Linked DNA regions of Homo sapiens: regions 2, 3, 4 and 5 are each linked to region 1. Evidence: promoter capture Hi-C in 16 types of primary human blood cells and fetal thymus (Javierre and others, 2016). All regions are on one chromosome and are shown on one strand. The core of a region is centred on a gene start or on the middle of the fragment in contact, and the rest is flanking DNA. Distances in the headings are between cores, read along the strand shown.

Evidence for each region. The method cuts DNA at HindIII sites, captures the fragments that hold promoters and counts their contacts. A CHiCAGO score of 5 or more calls a contact.
Region 2: a fragment that was not itself captured here is called in contact with the fragment with the promoter of TMEM30B in region 1 in 7 of 17 cell types (activated CD4 T cells, total CD4 T cells, non-activated CD4 T cells and 4 more); the score reaches 11.4 in activated CD4 T cells.
Region 3: a fragment that was not itself captured here is called in contact with the fragment with the promoter of TMEM30B in region 1 in 6 of 17 cell types (total CD8 T cells, total CD4 T cells, non-activated CD4 T cells and 3 more); the score reaches 8.0 in total CD8 T cells.
Region 4: a contact is called between a fragment that was not itself captured here and the fragment with the promoter of TMEM30B in region 1, in 4 of 17 cell types (naive CD4 T cells, non-activated CD4 T cells, naive CD8 T cells and 1 more). The highest score is 7.1, in naive CD4 T cells.
Region 5: a contact is called between the fragment with the promoter of PRKCH-AS2 here and the fragment with the promoter of TMEM30B in region 1, in 6 of 17 cell types (activated CD4 T cells, total CD8 T cells, non-activated CD4 T cells and 3 more). The highest score is 12.3, in activated CD4 T cells.

The regions. Positions count from the first base shown.
Region 1 is chr14:61,279,468-61,283,522 of GRCh38, reverse strand. TMEM30B (transmembrane protein 30B) reads left to right here and starts at 2,185. Exons shown (of 1, transcript NM_001017970.3): 1 at 2,185-4,055. The coding sequence starts at 2,376. The coding sequence ends at 3,431. It also overlaps a transcript of PRKCH not described here. RefSeq lists an enhancer at 2,760-3,723. The HindIII fragment of the contact is 12,699 bases long and covers 1-4,055 here.
Region 2 is chr14:61,769,937-61,773,991 of GRCh38, reverse strand. The region is part of intron 4 of SNAPC1 (small nuclear RNA activating complex polypeptide 1); the gene reads right to left. Among named protein-coding and RNA genes, the nearest start is that of SNAPC1, 9.5 kb to the right of the region's middle. The HindIII fragment of the contact is 1,526 bases long and covers 1,115-2,640 here.
Region 3 is chr14:61,714,207-61,718,261 of GRCh38, reverse strand. All of the region lies in intron 1 of HIF1A (hypoxia inducible factor 1 subunit alpha), which reads right to left. It overlaps HIF1A-AS3 (HIF1A antisense RNA 3), which reads left to right. Exons shown (of 3, transcript NR_144368.1): 2 at 1,245-1,293; 3 at 2,434-2,704. Among named protein-coding and RNA genes, the nearest start is that of HIF1A-AS1, 20 kb to the right of the region's middle. The HindIII fragment of the contact is 582 bases long and covers 960-1,541 here.
Region 4 is chr14:61,698,326-61,702,380 of GRCh38, reverse strand. All of the region lies in intron 1 of HIF1A (hypoxia inducible factor 1 subunit alpha), which reads right to left. Among named protein-coding and RNA genes, the nearest start is that of HIF1A-AS1, 4.5 kb to the right of the region's middle. The HindIII fragment of the contact is 798 bases long and covers 1,758-2,555 here.
Region 5 is chr14:61,543,587-61,547,641 of GRCh38, reverse strand. It overlaps PRKCH-AS2 (PRKCH antisense RNA 2), which reads left to right and starts at 2,158. Exons shown (of 3, transcript NR_188139.1): 1 at 2,158-2,548. The region is part of intron 12 of PRKCH (protein kinase C eta); the gene reads right to left. The HindIII fragment of the contact is 1,799 bases long and covers 1,831-3,629 here.

The sequences.
Region 1 (4,055 bases), core at 936-3,435:
TGTCTTCCTATCTTGCTATCTGCTTCCCTTTCCCTGCACCTGATGGTAACCTCATTCCTGCCACACAAACCACCCAAAGTGTTCCCACAAAAGTCAAACCCCATAATTCCTTTTCATTTATCTCACTTGAACCCTCAGCTGTGTTTAACTCTGCTGACCATTCCTTGTCTTGAAATATTCTCTTTTGACTTTGAAAATCTGTCACCTTAATTAGTGGAATGAATAAACTAGTACCTTTAGGCCATCCAGGAATAGGAGAAAAGGAGGAAAGGCTCTGAGCTCAAGAATGGGGCTTGCCCTTTTAGGGGTGTGGTGGTGATCTACTAGAAAAAAGACTTAAGATTTACCAGATAGGCTTGGTGTGATGGCTCACACCTATAATCCCAACAATTTGGGAGGCTGAGGCAGAAGGATCTCTTGGGCTCAAGAGTTTGAGACAAGCCTGGACAACTGAGGGAGACACCTCTCTCTCAAAAAAAAAAAAATCTACAAAAGTTGTGAAAACTGAATTCCTTCCTAGAGACGAGTTTTGTGGACTAGTGATTCAATGAAACGGGTGGGTGGAACTCAACCATAATGATACAAAGAACTATTTATTCTTTTATTGAAAAAAAGGGTGACTGGAGACTGGATCACACTGTGGGAACTTGCTGAGAATTTTGGAACTTCCTCTCTTTGGGTATGATAAGAAGTGAGGGAATTGAAATTCAAGTCACTTGAATTTCCCTCAGTCTTCTATAATACCTGGTTTCCAACTTGCATTCATTTAACAAACTGGAATCAATGTTCCATTATTAAATCAATATTACTTTTTAATTTTAATGTGACTTGTAGAATGCAATTTGATACTTGATTACACCCTATGATTCATAGCTATTATTGGCTATTTTGATTGTTTCTTACTCCTAATATGTCCCCTATCAAACTGCAAATGCCTTGAGGTCAAAGGTCCTTTTTTGTCTAATTAGCATAGGACTGAACACTTGGAAGATGCTAACAACATTCCTCTGTTAAATTTAATAAGGATTTTAACTTTCCAAGTTCAATGGGTTTTGAATGACTCCTGAATATAATATATTATGCTAGGTGTAGTGTAATAGAGAAAACATTTGTATTACTTGCATTTTACAAGCTGGAGGAGAAGCAAGAACACAATACCTAGGGAAGATTTAGATTTAGTAAGAAATCAGAACGTCCCAATACCCCCTTGTATATGTTTTACCAACCTAGATTTAAAAAAAAAAAAAAAAAAGCCAGAATCCCAGGCAACATAGGGAGCTAATTTGAGTTCTTTTTATAATAAATCCTATAAATCCTTGTAGTTTACTTCCTTAGGCCAGACACTCCAGATGTTTTTGTGGATAGCAGCTAGGTCTCCTGGGACCTTGGATTGGGCCTTTCTCTAGTCAGGCAAATAATCTGAAAAGAAAACGAAATCACATGTAGTCCAGCACATTTTTTCCTTTCTTGGTTTCTCCACACCAGCTAAGAGTTATTTAAAGGCTCTGAACCTCTCCAGCCTTTGATTCTTTTTAAGGATGATTTTATTTTTAGAGAACTTTCCACATTTCCTAGTTATACAGCCAGACTGGGTGATCTGGCCAGAAAATCATTTTCCCTTAAAAAAAAAAAAAAAAAAAAAAAAAAAAAAAGCTAAAATTTGAACGCAGGCGTTGAATTCGAAACAGATTTATCATAACGTAATTCCCTGGACACTCCCAACTTGAGACTGAAAGCTGGGCGAAAGCGGTTTGTGAAGCTAACCTAAAAGACAAAATGGTCTAGAGCCACCTTTTCCCCGCAAATAACAGAGGATTAAGGATCTGAAATCTTCAAGCCTCCAGGACCACGGTGCAAGCCCTCAGCAAAAATTTCTGCTGGAGGCCGGAGCGCCTTTTGATTTCGGGAGACTGGCCCAGGAACTCTAGTCACTTGGAAGGCGGAAGAGAAGGTGGTACCTGAGCCAGGTAGGAGCCACTCAGAGGCAGCCCGGGGCCGCCACTCACCTAGGAGAGGAGGTGGAGTCCGATGACCTGGACTGAGAGGAAACGCGAGACTGAGTCTACCAGGTGAGGTAAAAAACACCCACCTGCTCACCTCGGAAGGGGCGGGCGAGGTGCGGCTCCCGGTGACCCGCGGGGGTGCAGCGCACCTGGGCGGAGGCGGAACTGGGAGGGTGTGGGCACTGCTCGTAGGGCCTGGAACTAAACTCACCTGTGACGGAGGCAGAGGAGGGGCCCGGGCAAAAACCCACCTGAGCTGGCGGGAAACCCGACCCGCGAGCAGTCCCCGGGCTTGCGCGGCGCGGAGAGGGAGGCGCCCCGCGGCGGGGCCCCCACTCGGTCAGCCCGCGCGTCGGTCCCCGCGCGGCCGCCATGACCTGGAGCGCCACGGCCCGGGGCGCCCACCAGCCCGACAACACCGCCTTCACTCAGCAGCGCCTCCCCGCCTGGCAGCCGCTGCTGTCGGCCAGCATCGCGCTGCCGCTCTTCTTCTGCGCGGGCCTGGCCTTCATCGGCCTGGGCCTGGGCCTCTACTACTCCTCCAACGGCATCAAGGAGCTGGAGTACGACTATACAGGCGACCCGGGCACCGGTAACTGCTCGGTGTGCGCCGCGGCTGGCCAGGGCCGGGCGCTGCCGCCCCCCTGCTCGTGCGCCTGGTACTTCTCGCTGCCCGAGCTCTTCCAGGGCCCAGTGTACCTCTACTACGAGCTGACCAACTTCTACCAGAACAACCGGCGCTACGGCGTGTCCCGCGACGACGCGCAGCTGAGCGGACTCCCCAGCGCGCTGCGCCACCCTGTCAACGAGTGCGCCCCCTACCAGCGCAGCGCGGCCGGCCTGCCCATCGCGCCCTGCGGCGCCATCGCCAACAGCCTCTTCAACGACTCCTTCTCGCTTTGGCACCAGCGCCAGCCCGGCGGGCCCTACGTCGAGGTGCCGCTCGACCGCTCCGGCATCGCCTGGTGGACCGACTACCACGTCAAGTTCCGCAACCCGCCGCTGGTCAACGGCAGCCTGGCGTTGGCCTTCCAGGGCACGGCGCCCCCGCCCAACTGGCGCCGGCCAGTCTACGAGCTCAGCCCCGACCCCAACAACACCGGCTTCATCAATCAGGACTTCGTGGTGTGGATGCGCACGGCGGCGCTGCCCACGTTCCGCAAACTGTACGCGCGCATCCGCCAGGGCAACTACTCGGCCGGGCTGCCGCGGGGCGCCTACCGCGTCAACATCACCTACAACTACCCGGTGCGCGCGTTCGGCGGCCACAAGCTCCTCATCTTCAGCAGCATCTCGTGGATGGGTGGCAAGAACCCCTTCCTGGGCATCGCCTACCTGGTCGTCGGCTCCCTCTGCATCCTCACCGGCTTTGTCATGCTGGTCGTCTACATTCGCTACCAGGACCAGGACGACGACGACGAGGAGTGATTCCGGCTTTCCAGGGATCCCTCCTGCTTCTTGCCAAAACTCTTGCAAGGTGCTTTTGGCATCTCCTCCTCGCCCGTCACCCAATTCCAACCTCGCCTAGCTTTTCCTCCCTTTGTGAATGAGGGGACCAGATAAGGGAATTACCCCCCTTGCTCTTGGGGGGCTGCTAGACTGTCTTGCCGCGGGGAGGGATGTTGACTGCAGAGTGAAACATCCTTGCAAACTCTTCCCACCTCCTTCACGACACTGAGTTGCCATGTGAGGTTCTTCAAGTCTGAGAGTGGAAGGGATCCCTATGGAGACTCCTATTAAACCCCTATTAGAGGAAGAGATTGAGAGACCTAGCAATGTGAAGTAACAAAGATCAGGCAGCTGCAAGTGACTCCTGAATCTTGAGTCCAGGGCTTTCGCCACTACAGTACAGTGGTTTTCTTTTCTTTGGTCGGGGAGAGTGGGCTGGAATGGAGAGTGAGGCCCACAAATTACCTGCAGAGACGTGGAGGCGTGAGGGAGAACATGCTTGTTAAATATGCAGGTAGATTAGGAGACACCAAACAGAGATTCAGACACAGTAAGGCTGGGATGAGATCCTCGAAGCTGTGTTTTAACAAACTCCACTGGAGA
Region 2 (4,055 bases), core at 628-3,127, 490 kb before region 1:
CATGCCTGTAATCCCAGCACTTTGGAAGGCCGAGGTAGGCGGATCACCTGAGGTCAGGAGTTCGAGACCACCCTGGCCAACATGGTGAAACCCCATTTCTACTAAAAATACAAAAAATTAGCCAGGCATGGTGGCGGGTGCCTGTTGTCCGAGCTACTCGGGAGGCGGAGGAAGGAGAATCGCTTGAACCTGGGAGGTGGGGAGGTGGAGGCTGCAGTGAGCCGAGATCGTGCCACTGCATTCCAGCCTGGGCAATAAAAGGGAAACTCTGCCTTAAAAAATAAAAAAAAAAAAAAGGCCAGGCATGGTGGCCCGCGCCTGCAATCCCAGCACTTTGGGAGGCCGAGGCGGGCGGATCATGAGGTCAGGAGATCAAGACCATCCTGACTAACACGGTGAAACCTTGTCTCTACTAAAAAAATACAAAAAATTAGCTGGGCATGGTGGCAGGCGCCTGTGGTCCCATCTACTCAGCAGGCCGAGGCAGGAGAATGGCATGAACCCAGGAAGCAGAGCTTGCAGTGAGCCAAGATCGCACTCCAGCCTGGGCGACAGAGGGAGACTCCATCTCAAAAAAAAAAAAAAAAAAAAAAACTAAGGAAATACCACCTTCTCTGCAGGGTTACTATGATAATTAGTGAGATAACATACATAAAACATCTAGCATAGTTCCAGGTATATGGTGAGTACTCAGCACACGATGTCCATTATTATAACTGTATAAATGAAGAAACAGAAATGAAATAATTTGCTCAAGGTCCTACTTACATAGCAGCGGGCTAGAATTAGAAGTCAAATGTTTTGATTCAGTATCCTGTTCTCTTTTCATTTTATTATGCCTCTTAACCACAAAACTAGAACAAGTGGCAGAATCATGACCAGAATTCAGATCTTCTGAAATGAAGACTTAATAGCAGTTGCAGGCAGTAGAAGGAAAATTTAAAAGTATTAAATTTAAGAATTATCAGTGAGAATGGATTACAGGCTATGCTAGGACAAAAGATATAGAGCCAGCAGAAGTATCAAGGGACAAGGCTCTCAAAGCAATTATGTCACAAGCCAGAGATCCGACAGAGCCAGGATAACTTCACAGACTATTCCATTCCTAAAAGCTTCCAGGTATAGGCATTTCATAGCTTGACCCTTCTGATACTCTTCTCTATTCACTCTAAAAGAGTAGACCTTTGTTCATCAACCCCAACTTAAAAGAGCTTAGAATGAAAAAGCATGTTGAAAAAGATATGTTGAAAAAATATTTACATTCTACCACCAAATTGGTCAACAGTCAGAAAAATTAAAACCGGACAACCATGGTGGCTCATGCCTATAATCCCAGCACTGTGGGAGGCCAAGGTAGGAAGATCACCCAAGCTCAGGAGTTCAAGACCTGCCTGGGCAACATAGCAAGACCTTGTCTCTACAAGAAATGTTTTAAAATTAGCCAGCATGGGCCAGGCGTAGTGATTCACGCCTATAATCCCAGCACTTTGGGAGGCCAAGGTGGGTGGATCACAAGGTCAGGAGTTCAAGACCAGCCTGGCCAAGATGCCGAAACCCTGCCTCTGCTAAAAATACAAAGATTAGCCCAGCGTGGTGGCACGTGCCTGTAATCCCAGGTATTCAGGAGGCTAAGGCAGGAGAATCGCTTGAACCCGGGTGGCAGTTGCAGTGAGCCAAGATCATACCACTGCACTCCAGCCTGGGACACAGAGCAAGACACCGTCTCGGAAAAAAAAATTAGCCAGCATGGTGGTGAGGGCCTAGCTACTCAGGAGGCTGAGGTGGGAGGATCACTTAAGCCCAGGAGACTGAGGGTGCAGTGAGCTACGATCACCCTACTGCGCTCCAGCCACGGTGATGAAGCAAGATCCTGTCTCAAAAATTAAAAAAAAAGAAATTGTAACCAACTGGGTTCAGATCATCTTTTTTCATTAGAATATTGATAAGAATAATGTCTTGCTGTTTGAAAATGTCCTATGCCTCTCTCTTCATGATTCACATCAGCATTTCTCAACTTTCTGGTATCCCGAAATCTTTCTTCCATTCTCCACAACCGCTATTCCAAACATTTTCAACTCTCAGTTCCCTGATCCCCATGATGCTCTCTTAAAGTTCAGGCAATCAGGTCTGTTTGCCTTCTATTTCTCCTCTACACAAAGATTTATAAAAATCCATTCTCACCTTCTTTCCTCAAGTTTCAAAGGAAAAAGTATGCCTTCTGCTCAAGGCTACTCCCTCCATGGACTCTCAATCGCAGACACACCCACCTCCTCCATAGCAGGAACCTTGCTCGCTACCTCTCCTATATACAACCATTCCCTCTAACTAGCTCCTTACCTCAACTCCAAACATAAACATTATGTCTCTCCAATCTCTAAAACTTTACGACTCCCCTCTGCCAAAAAGACAAAATACAAATTCCTTCTATTACACAAAGTACTTTTATCTTATTTAGTTTTCTACATAAACTCTCTCCTACCTCTTTCTCACTAAGCTGCTAGAGGGAAAAAAAAATCCTAGTTCTTGTTACACTTCATTTGTTTGTTGAATGACAAATTTCTAACCCCAGTCCCACCTCAGACCAGTCCTTTGCTGTCCAACAAACAGGCACCACAGCCATACAAAACTGAGTATGAAGCTTAGCTCCATTACTTCCTAACCTAGTCTCTGTAACTCAGTTTCCTCAACTTTAAATCACGGATAAAAACCCCTATTTTTAAAAATAATAATTAAAAATGTTTAAAAACACTTATTTTGCAGAAATGTTGTAGAAGTAAAACAATCTACACAAAATATTTTCCCAGAGTTCCTGCATTATACTATGTCTTCAGATATTGAGGAATATTCAGTTCCTTGTAATACAGTAATTCTTAACCTTTTTGGGGGACATGAACACCTTTGAGAATCTGAGGATAATTACAGTACCTCACCCTAAAAATGTATCCATATGAGCTGGGTGGGGTGGCTCATGTCTGTAATTGCAGTACTTTGGGAGGCTGAGGCGGGCGGATCGCCTGAGCTCAGGAGTTTGAGACCACCCTGGGCAACATGGTGAAACCCCATCTCTACTAAAATACAAAAAATTAGCCGAGTGTGGTGGTGCGTACCTGTAGTCCCAGCTACTCGAGAGGCTGAGGCATGAGTATCACTTGAGCCCTGGAGGCAGAGGTTGCAGGTTGCAGTGAGCCAAAATTGCGCCACTGCACTCCAACTTGGGCTACAGAGTGAGAGAATCTATCTCAAAAAAAAAGGATCCATATGTATGACATCAATTTTTCATACAATGTGGTGGGGGAGAGGGACATGGACCATCTCCAGGCCAGAGATTAAGGATCCTTGCTCAAAAATAAAGTTACTTTACAGAACAGACCCAGAGTGCTCCCAAAAATCAATTTGCTACCTGAATTACAAACAACCTGACAGGCTGATGTTATTGCAACGTGGGGGCGACCGGGCACAGTGGCTCACACCTGTAAACTCACCACTTTAGGAGGCCAATGCAGGCAGATCGCTTGAGGCCAGGAGTTCAAGACCAACCTGGTCAACACAGTGAAACCTCACCTCTATTAAAAATAGAAAAAATTAGTTGGGCATGGTGGTGCACAACTGTAATCCCAGCTACTCAGTGGGTTGAGACACAAGAATCACTTGAAACTAGGAGGCAGAGGTTGCTGCAAGCCAAGATCGTGCCACTACATTCCAGCCTGGGTGACAGAGGAAGATCCTGTGTCAGGGACAAGAAAAAAAAAAAAAAAAAGAACATGGGGGCATCTAAACAAACATTTGAGTAAATCTAAGATCTGATCCCTGTCTTTCAATTGTAATACAAGAAAAGACTGAGTAGGGCTGGAGAAAAAGGGAATTAACATTTATTAAGGGTATATACTGTGTGTAATATACCACACTCAGCACTATTTAGGCATCACCTCATTTCAATTTGCAGAACAACCGAATGAAATAAAATATTATAATCCTAATAGTAATGAGGGAGACATTTAGGCTTAAAGAAAATTTAAAAGCACGACCAAAGTGTCCCCTTACCCTCTCGTCTCCTC
Region 3 (4,055 bases), core at 1-2,500, 440 kb before region 1:
AGGCTGGTCTTGAACGCCTAAGCTCAAGCAATTCTCCTGCCTCAGCCTCACAAAGGGCTCAAATTACAGGCTTGAGCCATTGTGCCTGGCCAAAGTGTTCAGAATTTTATAAGCAACTTACTGTATTTTTTCTGAACCACTCAACTGATGTAAACTACCAATAAATGACTACCCAAATGAAACACTTGGTGAAAAAATTGAAAACCTTATAATATGTGCTATATATGCTTTTTTTTTTTTTTAATGGAGTTCTGCTCTTGTCACCCAGGCTGGAGTGCAATGGCAAGATCTTGGTTCACTGCAACCTCCACTTCCCAGGTTCAAGCAATTCTCCTGCCTCAGCCTCCTGAGTAGCTGGGATTACAGGCATGTGGTACCATGCCAGGCTAATTTTTGTATTTTTAGTACAGACAGGTTTCACCATGTTGGCCAGGCTTGTCTCAAACTCCAGACCTCAAGTGATCCACCCGCCTCGGCCTCCCAAAGTGCTGGGATTACAGGCGCGAGTATATGCTTTTAAAGGGTATCCAATCAAGCTAACTATGGTGATGGAATGTCTCCAGTTCCTCTGTAATACACGTATCGTCCAGAACTTCAAAGATAGCAATGACTATCTAAGGAGTGGCAATAAGTGTCTAAGACAAATCCATTAGAAATTTGAGGTTAGATAAAGCATCTAAAGGACAGTATATTTAAAAGCTAGTGTAGACTGAAAATAAGACTGAATTTTGGAAGAAAACCAGCCTTCAAGAAAACAACTAATATAGAGTTGACAAACCTATATTAGATGAAGGTGATAAAAATTATTATGTCCTTTATCACACAATGAGTCTAGACAGAAACCAATCAAGGGATCTATAATAAAGATTTAATGGAAAAATCTTCATGATATTCTTCATATGTGACTACTGGAGGTCTTATAACATTTCTAAGTAAGCTTAAAGCTTAAAGCTAAAGCTTCTGAAGTTCTTGTGAGTTTCAGCATTTAAACTGCCCGGCTTCTTGTCTAGTCACAGGAAGGCTAATTTTATCAGTTTTATACCACAGAATTACAGTACTGACCAAGAATTATTTGTTAGACCAGGGGGTCTAGGTCCCACAGAGATGAATCCTGTACTATTTGTTTTACTGCTTACATTGCACAACAGAAGATATGTAGATCAGAAAGAAGTACATTTTCCACATGCAAATAAGGTCACTATATTTCTCTAAATTTTATAAATTGCATCTGTTTTGTTTTTAAGTACAGGTCAAGTGAAGTTCTTCTGCTGATATGTTCTGCTACTGCATAAGGTACTATATTTCAGTTAAGAGTACAGTTAAAACAGTTTGTTTACCCATTTCTACAACTGTTCTAGAACTAAAGTTGGAGTATACTACTGGCAAAATAGCTCAATCTTTGTGGTATTGTAGTTTTTACATGCTTACCATTTTATTATTTAACATACAGTATTAGACACAAAAGTAACAATTATATCTTGAAATTATTTTGTATAGGAAATATATTTAGAAAAATAATTTTGAGCCCGTCTTATTAAGCTTCTTGTGTACAAAGTTCATGAATAAGCAAGAGTTGTTTTATAGAGAATGTCTATTGTTCTTCAGATTAAGAACATAAAATATTTAGTGCTTTGTAGTAGGTCAGTAAAAATTAAAAAAAAATAAAAGGACACAAAATAATTGTAGGCATTTAAAGTCATCTTTTCGTATTGCACAAAAAGCCTGTTAGCATTCCTAATTGTAAAAATATGTGACTTCAAGAACTGAAGTTAAACCATAACTATTTAAAATGTGAGCAGATTATCAGATTTACTTCTAATAAAGTTAATGTACCTCAATTATGTTATTTGGTGAAATAACTCTTTCTGGCCTTGAAGGTACAAGTTGGTTTTTGTTGTTTTTGCACTTGCGTCAGTATTTCTACAGGACTGACATTCTGAAGTGAAATTTCATGATATAAAAAATGTGCTACTGAAATTTTTTAAAATACACAATAGCTTTCCAAATGGTTCTGTGCCCATTTTTGTCTCTGCCAGTTCATGAATGTGTATATCAATTCCCCCATGCACTCTGCAATATTATATATTACGCATCTTTTTAATCTTATTAATTTCTGCTGAGCTGATAGGTGAGAATTATATCTCATCATTTTAACTGCCCTGCACTTCTTAAAGTCTCAGGCCCAAGAAAAATGCAAAGAAAAGTTCATGTTCACTCTTCAGTTGGCATTTTTGCCTGCAGTTTTATTTTCATTTTATTTTAGAGACAGAGTCTTGCTCTGTCACCCAAGCTGGAGTACAGTGGCATGATCATAAGCTCACTGCAGCCTCGAAATCGTGGGCTCAAGCAATCCTCCCCCTCCCTACCTCAGCCTCCCAAGTAGCTACAGGCACACGCTACCATGCCCAACTAATTCTGTTAAATTTTTTGCAGAGACGGAATCTATGTTGCCTCGACTGGTCCTGAACTCCTGGGCTAAAGCGATCCTTCTGCCTTGGCCTCCCAAAGTGCGAGGATTATAGGTGTGAGCCACCCAACCTGGCCTTTGCCAGTATTTTTAAATCCAAACACCTATGCATGGTGCTTACTAATAACACAGTGGTATTCTAAACATTTTTCACCTATTATTTAATCTTTATTATTATCACCATGTTACAGATAAGGACCCTGGCTAAATAGCTTACCCAACATTACTCCGTTAATAAATGGTAGAACCTGTATTTCACTCAAGCAGTCTGGTGTCCACGCGATTAACACTAGACTATGTTGTCTCTCAAAAACTCATCCTGATTACCAAGGCAAGTATTTGTAAGTCTAGGCTATTATTATAAAGTTCGAAATTTGCCTACTTCACATGCCAAAGACATAAAGAAGGAATTATAGGAGTTGGCTTCAGAATTTAGGACTTGACCTAAGCTATTCAGAGAAACTCAGAACCAGGCTCTTTCTTGGAGTTTGCTTATAAATCCAAAATCCTAACTGAAAGGCACCTACAATGGTAATAGATGCTCTCTGCTCTACTGTCCAGCAGCTCTTCAAAGCAAGGTAATCCCTTCCGGTAATGCCAATCATTATGGCGAAAGAGTCAAAAGATGGTAATTCAGTCTATACTCCCAGTAGACTTTATTTGTACAGAGCAGCTATTTCAATATCTAAGTTCAACATTGTTGGTGTTTTACTTGCTCAACATTTGTCTAGCAGTCACAGAAACTGTTTTTTTTTTTCCTGAGACGGCATTTCACCCTTGTTGCCCAGACTGGAGTGCAATGGCGCGATCTCGGCTCACTGCAACCTCTGCCTCCTGGGTTCAAGCAATTCTCCTGCCTCAGCCTCCCGAGTAGCTGGGATTACAGGCGTGTGCCACCACGCCCAGCTAATTTTTGTATTCTTAGTAGAGATGGGGTTTCATTATGTTGGCCAGGCTGGTCTGGAACTCCTGACCTCAGGTGATCTGCCCACCTTGGCCTCCCAAAGTGTTCGGATTACAGGCGTTGAGCCACTGCGCCTGGCCCTTCCTTGTTGTTTGTACTCATTTTTAAAGTTATTCTAACTTGTATTAGGCCAAATTAATGAAGAAAGGCTTAAGTTTTTAAAATATTAAAAATATTTTAGATCTATACCTAAAGCTAACACACATACTATAATGATGCAGTCTCCTAACATGAGGTGATTTTCTGAAACTAACTGGTTTTTAAGTGGGAAGGGTTTTGTCCTCCAGAATTTTGTATAATGGTGGCATAAACACTGGAAGGTAACTCTCAAGGTCTAATCCTCAAGGTTTTTAATTCCATCATTTCCCACAGGAAAACAAATGGAAAATCCACCAAGTTCTTGGTTTGTATTTTGCAGCATATTTGAAGGAATTTTAGGAACTGAAATACCAGCAAACGAATAAACAAAAAGTATAACACCATCAGTACTTACTAAAACAACATCTCACATTTCCATAAGAGAATTCAGTTACTGTTCTTTTTCCTTAAATGGCTTTGAGCATTGTCTTGCTGTTTGCATAAGACTGTTTACTAACCTGAGTGTTTTCACAGATTTGGGAAGCT
Region 4 (4,055 bases), core at 907-3,406, 420 kb before region 1:
GCAACCTCTGCTTCCCAGGTTCAAGCGATTCTCCTGCCTCAGCCTCCGAGTAGCTGGGATTACAGGCATGTGCCACCACATCCTGCTATTTTTTTTTTTTTTTTTTTGTATTTTTAGTAGAGACGGGGTTTCTCCAAGTTGGTCAGGCTTGTCTTGAACTCCTGACCTCAGGTGATTCACCTGCCCCGGCCTCCCAAAATGGTGGGATTACAGGCAGGAGCCACCGTGCCGGGCCGACAATATTTCTAAAGAAACCTTTTAAAAACCTGCATTCTCTTTGTTCATCCAATTATTCAATCATTGTCTCATTTGTTAATTCAAATACTTATTAAGAGCTCACTGTGTACACCACGTACCAGTATTCACACCACAGATTTCTTTTTTAATTTTTTTGAAACACAGTCTTGCTCTGTCACCCAGGCTGGAGTGCAATGGGGCGATCTTGGCTCACCGCAACCTCCGCCTCCCAGGTTCAAGCAATTCTCCTGCCTCAGCCTCCTAAGTAGCTGGGATTACAGGCACCCGCCACCACGCCTGGCTAATTTTGGTATTTTTAGTAGAGATGGGGTTTCACCATGTTGGCCAGGCTGGTCTCGAACTCCTGACCTCAGGTGATCCACCCACCTCGGCATCCCAAAGTACTGGGATTACAAGCATGAGCCACCGCGCCCAGCCCACAAATTTCAAATTCAGCCTACTTGGGATTTGGTCCACTGAAACATATCCAGTTTTATAATGGAAAGGGGGAGGGTAGAAATCATTTTAAAGAAATTTGCTTAGCATCTGAATTTACAAGACTCTTAAGAACAGAAACGTATCCCAACCCTCAAAGACTTCAACTTTCGCCTTTAAACCTTATTTTTAACCATAGTATTTTTCAGCTGGAAAAACAAATCCTCCCAAACTACTTGGAAAAAAAAAAGGGGGAAACACGGGGGACCTGTCCTTAATGAGTGAAAATTGCAATATTAAATACTAGACACTTTTAAATTAATTTGCCTAAATATATTGTGACTTTTCAAACAAGTGAAGAACTACATACAGTAAACTATGTTCCATCACTACATTTTCCCATTTACAAGATAATAAATTTTCAAAATCATATGTTGAAATAATCTTTATGGTTAAAACTGTAACCGGTTAAGGTGAAATTTTAAAATAAAGAAACACTCATAAATAACAGTTGAGATCACCAGAACAGCTAAAAGCTAACATCTTGGGAACAGTTTTTAATAAAAATACATTATTTCAATTATTGTTTTAAATCTTAGAGAACAAATTTCCTAATTAAATTGGGCTTTATCAACAATAGAACAGGTGTACACTATTTTACCCAAAAAGTGTTTCTGTGAAAAAGTACTGGCATAACAAATCTAAGTCACTAGAAAAATTGAATTCTCCTTTTAGAGGTACTTACTCTCCTTTCAGTTAAAGCTTCCACTGGCAAACTGTAGTTAGCTTTCAGCTGGTTAATTATCCACAAACAAGCCCTTAAAAACAATCACTTCAACATATTAGATGGCTACCACTTTGCCACATTAGATGGCTAAGAAAGAAAGAGAAGAGAAGGAAGGAAAGAAAGAAAACAAGTGTTTAGAAGGATGTGGAGAAATAGGAACCCTTGTGCACTGTTGGTGGGAATGTAAACTGGTGCAACTGCTATAGAAAACAATATGGTGGTTCCTTGAAAATTAAAAAGGGTTACCATATGATCCAGCATCCCTCTTCTGGATATGTATCCAAAAAAAGTGAAAGCTTCAAAGAGAGATTTGCAGACTCATGTTCAGAGCAGCACAATAACCAAGATGTGGAAGCAACCCAAGTGTCCGTTGCTGGATGAATGGAGAAACAAAATATGGAACATATAATGGAATATTGCTCAGACTCAAAAAGGAAGGAAATTCTGACACATGCTACAACATGGATGAACCTTGAGGACATTACACAAAGTGAAATAAGCCCATCACAAAAATATTAAAACCCTATAATTCTATTTATATGAGGCATCTAGAGTAGTTAAATTTGCAGAAACAGAAAGTAAAATGGTGGTTGCCAGAGGCTGAGGAGAGGGGGAAATTGGGAGTTGTTTAATGGGTAAGATTTCAGCTTTGCAAGATGAAAAAGTTCTGGAAGTTAGTGGCACAATGTGAATATACTTAACACTACTGAACAGTACTTAGAAATGGTTAAGATGGTAAATTTTAGGTTAATGTTTTTGAACTACGATTTTAAAAAACAATCAAAAGCTATAAGAAAAAAGCCATGAGGTAATCACATTTTTGTTTTTATGAAACAAAAATTTTAAATTTTGTTTTAAAAATTCAGGTTTTAGATACTAGATTTCTCTAAAGGGATCATGTCTGGCAAATAAATAAGGGTTTATAAATTTCTACTGCAGAAAACATGAACATTAATACTCAACGCATATACAAAACAGTTAATTCTTGATGTGTCAAGAGACCAAGAGATATAATTATTTTTAAAATTCCAAAGCCTATAGTTAATTTAAACAATCTGACCATATTTTTACCAAAAATACTGAGCAACAAGAAGCTTGGCTTGTCTTAGTTTCAAATTCTCTTTCTAACCTTCCAGAGTTAAGCAGAAAACACATACACACACTGGGTAAAATCCACCCACTGGATAACTAGTCACAAAGTTTAAAAAATCAATTTCTTGATTGGAAACTCATCCAACATCACATTTAAATTTAGATTTTTTTATCCTGGTTAAGAAACAGACTTATGTTAATCTTAGATAAAGGGATACAGTATTTTAAGTATCTAAATTTAAAAAATTATATACTAAGAGAAGGCATCTATGAACACACAATTTAACCCAAATCTTTAACATCCATGCACATCAATTTTTATTTCACCACCAAACATAATAAACTGAGTTCTTCAGAAAAAAAAAAAAAATCAGTCAAGAGACTAAATAATCCCCCTCAGCTTTCTATACACCACTCTTGACATACAAGAATAGAATGTAACCACAAAATCTAAACCCTGAGCCGTGACACCATTAGAGTCACAGACAATGGCGTTAAAAGTAAAGACAATGGAAGTTAACAGGTAGAAAAGTTGACATTCTCCAAACTGCACAAGGTGCTCTGCAGTGGACCGTAGGAATGAACTCCAATACTTTCTCAGTCTAAAATAACTCGATAGTTCAGTAAATACACACGTGTGGAAGAGTGCATAGACTTCATACAAATTGAGCCACAAAACAGACCAGTAAGACAAGCTTGAAGTCTTGCCTTCAGATGGAACCCAATGGTCTTAACTCTGGAGAAACTCATAAGCAAAGGACAGTTTTTCTACCACGTAGCTGCTTTACTGAGAATATTTTATCAACTCATTATCTTTTACAAAGGTTAATTTTTATAAAATTGTCTAAACTTTGGCATCAAGACGAAAAATGTTTTAACTTACTGCCAGTACTAAGAATGCAGTGTCTTGCACATATCTTGCTTAAATGAACAGTAAGACTAGAATACTGTGTATGTTTGACTCTAGAGTCCAGAGTAAACTCAGTATTCTATTTGGGGAGAAAACACAGGGGTGAGCAATTGTGAAGCAGGAGGCCTCCACTAGAGTAGAGAGCAGATCAGATGCTCAAGAAAAATAACTGATACTAGGTGCCAATATAACCCAAGGATGTACTCTTTTGCCCATTGTAACAGGAAAAAAACGCTTTTCAAGCTCTGGATCCAATGTTAGTCTTTTCACTTTCAGGAGATAGAAAAGATGCATGAAGACACAGAAAAGAAACTAAAGGAAACAGCTGGAAGGACTAGCAAAAAAGAGTTTTAAGAGTTGTGGAAGTTTAAACAAGAATTTTAACAGGTAACATCTATTTTCAAGTACACAGTGTCATCAAGACTCCTGCAATGGGCTAAGTGCTTCACAAGCATTATCTCATTTAACCTTTACAATAACTGCTCAGATGGCTGCTATTCTTATCATCATTTCAAAAGGAGGAAAGAGGCTCAGAGGCATTCAGTAACTTGCTCAAGCTCACAAGTGAAGGGCTGGGACCCTTAACTCAGAGGT
Region 5 (4,055 bases), core at 909-3,408, 260 kb before region 1:
TCTGGCAGGTCTTGCTTAACTAGCTGGGTTTTCCATCACAGGCAGCACAGTCAGTATGAATCATGCCTTAAAGGCGCGATTGCCTGTGTGGATTTATGGCTTTTCCCACTTCCATTTCAGACATGGCCACTAAAAGAAAGCAGGAGGGTCCAGTTTTCTTTTCTGTAAACACCATGTATTTTTCTTTCCTCTTTAAAGAAAAGAAGCTCTTTATAACAGTGTGCCTTTCCCCAACACTGCAGTTGTGGGCAGCAGACATCTTATGAATGGGGCTACTTTCAGAAACAGCTGTGCCATTTTTCTGAGTGACCTGACCAGCTGGCCAGGATTCCTGCTCTCTGACGAGACCACAGAGAGGAGAGAGAGTCGTTATTTTTGAAGATCTGTGTGAAGAAGCAGCAAAGGTGACATACTGAAAAGGTCTGTGTCCTGGCTCTAGAAAAAACAAAGTTGGCCACTTTTCTTTATGCAGCGAAGATATCATAGCTCTAGATGAAAGGCTTTTCTTCAAGATGTTCCCCCCACCACTGCTGTTTCGAAGTAGGTTCAATGACTGAGATTCCATTGCTCCATAGACCAAAAACTAAAACGAGCGCTGCCACACAGCTAAGCGATGTGTGCATAGAGATTCTCTGTATTTCCATCAGTTGGGAAACTTCCTTAGTGCTGGGCTCCTATCAAAATATGCTGGGCTAAATCTGCTTTCACAAAATAGCCAGGAAAGGTGTTTTGATCACTTCCTGAGCAAGGATTAGTACAGGATAATTCACTTTTCATGGCCGGAGTGTGGTTCTCAATTTCAAAGACACTGAAGCTAATTTAATTTCCCATATTGAAAGAAAATTGCCTTGGATAAAAAGTTTTGTTTTTGTTTTTATTTAAATCAGGTTATCTTTAAATAGACTCATGACAGTCCCCAAGCACCTCTTTCCAAATCTGATTTGTGAACAACACAAAAGTAATGCTGTGTTTATAAAAATTGTTTTGGAGCTGAATTTACAGAGAAAATCTTGTTGAAGGTGCAGACACGGAAAGACAGTGTTTGGAGGTACCTCCCACTGCCATGCCAGGTGTCCAGAGGTGTCAAGCTGCCAGTGTTGATTCAAATGAAAATGATAATGTTGAAGAAGGAGGCTGCAAAAGTTCCTAAGCAACCTGACGGGATATACCTTGTAAAATGCTTTCAAAAAAGCTTCAAAGGGCAGCTAATAAATGAATATACTGACAGGGTTTAATCGCTTCTCCTCTCTCCTAGTAACAGGAATTAAAGGCCACAGGTGGTTCTGGGTTGGAGGCAGGACCCAAAAGTAAATGCAGCATTCAGAGCTGCACAGGCCCAGTCAGAGCAGCTGCCACTTCAGGCACTTACAGTGGTCACCCAGGATTCAGGAGATGCATATTATAAGTAACTCAGTTCTGTAAGAGCTAGGAGTTAGTTCACACTGCTTGGGCTCTCACTAAGTAAGCCTGTGCAATGCAGGCAGGAAGGGAGAAAATGCTTACAAAAAAGAAATGAGTAGATTCTTGCCTTAGGAAAGTCAACGGGATACAATTCCTGATGGAAGAGCAGTTGCTATTCTAAGAGCTAATTAACAAGAAACAATGCTGCAAAAAACTTGGGAGACAGGACGGCAGAACACACCCAGATGGCCTGTGGGAAATTCCCAGGCCTGCCAATGATGTGAGAGAGGACATCTTGTGAATGGGTGGGTACAGCCTGTTCTTCTGGGCAAGACAAACAGTGCAGGACTCTATATGCCAGGGTGGCTGAAGCCCCAGTGTCCAAGAGGCTTGCCCATTCCTCCCTGCCCCTGGCACTGAACCCAAGCTTCCATGGGGCACTGTGGAAGAGGCCTTGCCTGACGACAAGTAGACCAAACACGACCGTCCGTCCTCTAAAAACTGCACCCTTGGAATTGGGGACAGGCAGAATAACCCTTTCACTAGCTTGATACTTAGCCTCTTGGGGTTCTGATAAATCCTTTTGAATAACCAAGCAGTTTTGTTTTTAATACCTTGGCCTGAGCCCTTTAGATGCAGCCATCCTCAACTTACAAAAAAAACAAACCAAAAGAAAAAACAAAACACACACACACACAAACAAACTTTGATTCAATTGACAAAGGTTTTCAAGGTGTCTACTACATGTAAGGCAGCACACTAGGGGTTTCTTGGGGATACGCAGATGACAAAGACAGTGTCTCTTCATCCAGGAGCTAATCAAGAGAAGGGGGAAGAATCAAGCAAACTTCATAATACACAGCCGGATGAAATGAAAAGAGACTTAGATCAAGTGCTGTGAGAGCTTGGAAGAGGCACGGGGCAAATAACACTGGGGCTGGTGGTGGGAAGGCAAGTGACAGCCTCGTGGAAGAGGTGGCATTTGACCAGAGATGAGGACGAACAGAATTAACATAGTAGGCATGAAGGAAGAAAATGCGCCTGAGGACACAGCCAGCACAAATGCAGAGGCATACAAGTGCCTGGTACAGCTGGCATGCAGGGATGGCTGAGGAACTGCGGGGGCAGCCGGTGGGATCCATCCGAGGTGAGTGATGAGAGCTGCACGGCAATTTAGGGGATGACACTAGCCACAGCGTGATGAATAAATCTTAAATGCAGAGGTAGCGCCTGGTGGTGAGCAGTTAGAGGCTGAGACAATAGCTGAGAACACATGACAAGTTCAGCAACTAGGAGAGTTTCTAGTTAATTGGAAGGAAGAGTTGGAAGCACATTCTAGAGGGCCGTGGAAGAATAAACACAATCCACTAACTGCCGGGAATGGGAGTGAAGAGTCCAAGATCACAGGGTCCTCCCTGGCTGCCTGATGGGGCAGTGGTGTTGAGTAACAGAAATGGAACAAAAGAGGGGCAAGAGATTATTCTTTGTAGCATGAGTATTAGTAGCAGTGTTAGTAGTAGTAGTATTTTTGTTAGTGGAACAAAGACAAAAATAGCTCACACTTACTGAGATCCTACAGTCTGCCAAATCTGGGAGGCTGATGGGCTCCGCTTTGCATTGGAGGTGTGTGGGCACCCACATGCAGATGAATTCTAGGGTAAATCTGGGGTGCAGGCCAGGGCTGGCCATCTAACGCTCAGAGACATTGAAATTTGAGTAACCACTGAAGCTGGGAGGGCAGGTTAGATTGTGGAAAGTGACAGAGACAGACTAGAACTGATACCAGCCCTAGGTCTCAGACACATTTTATTTGGCCTACCTAGTGTGTTTTGAAATAATTTTAATTACTTCTCAAATATTTAAACGCTAGGAAATGTCACATCACATGAAAAGTCAGGTTTTCCAACTTCTCGTGGAAAATGAGATACTCGGGAACACTGGGCCTGCACTCCTCTCATAGAAACGGCCTGGAGTTGAGCAGGGGCTTCTGCTTTTCATGGGGCACCAGATGCCCAGTCAGTCACATGCCCCACCACTCCCTATCACCTCCCACCTGGCTGGTATCACTCACGGACTTTCATGGCTCCTGACCCCTGGTGTAGGGTGAGAAGCAGCCAGAGTGGCAGCTGGAGGATGCCATGAAGAGGCCAGAGGAGGATGAATACCATGAAACAGAAACCAGGACCGGGAGAAGGAGGGTCCGGGGTGATACTAAGGGGGTAGAAGCTTTGTGTGTTGTGGTGGTGGTGGGGTGGCCCTTCTACCACTACCCCCGTCCAGTGATGTGGAGATGAGGAGTTAAGGGAACATTTAACATTAGTCCCAGGCCTGAAATCTTTCACAGTTCACGTTGGTGCAGATGGTGTGGAGTTGGAGGTGGATAGCTTGCCATCCTAGGCTGGGCACAGGCCTTTCCCTAAACTCTCTGTTCCTACTGCTGTGAATGGTGACAGCATAATCCTTTTGCAGAAAACTTTCATTATTTGCTTATGTCCCTAATGGGACCCAAATGCCAGTAAGTTAACAATTGTGCTCCTCGGGGCCATCACTTTCATCCACATTTAAGGTCACACTGAAAAGTTGCCTCACCTCAGCTGACTTTCTCCCTGACTGTGATCCAAGAGGGAAAGTCGGCCAAAGAGGAAAATAATGTG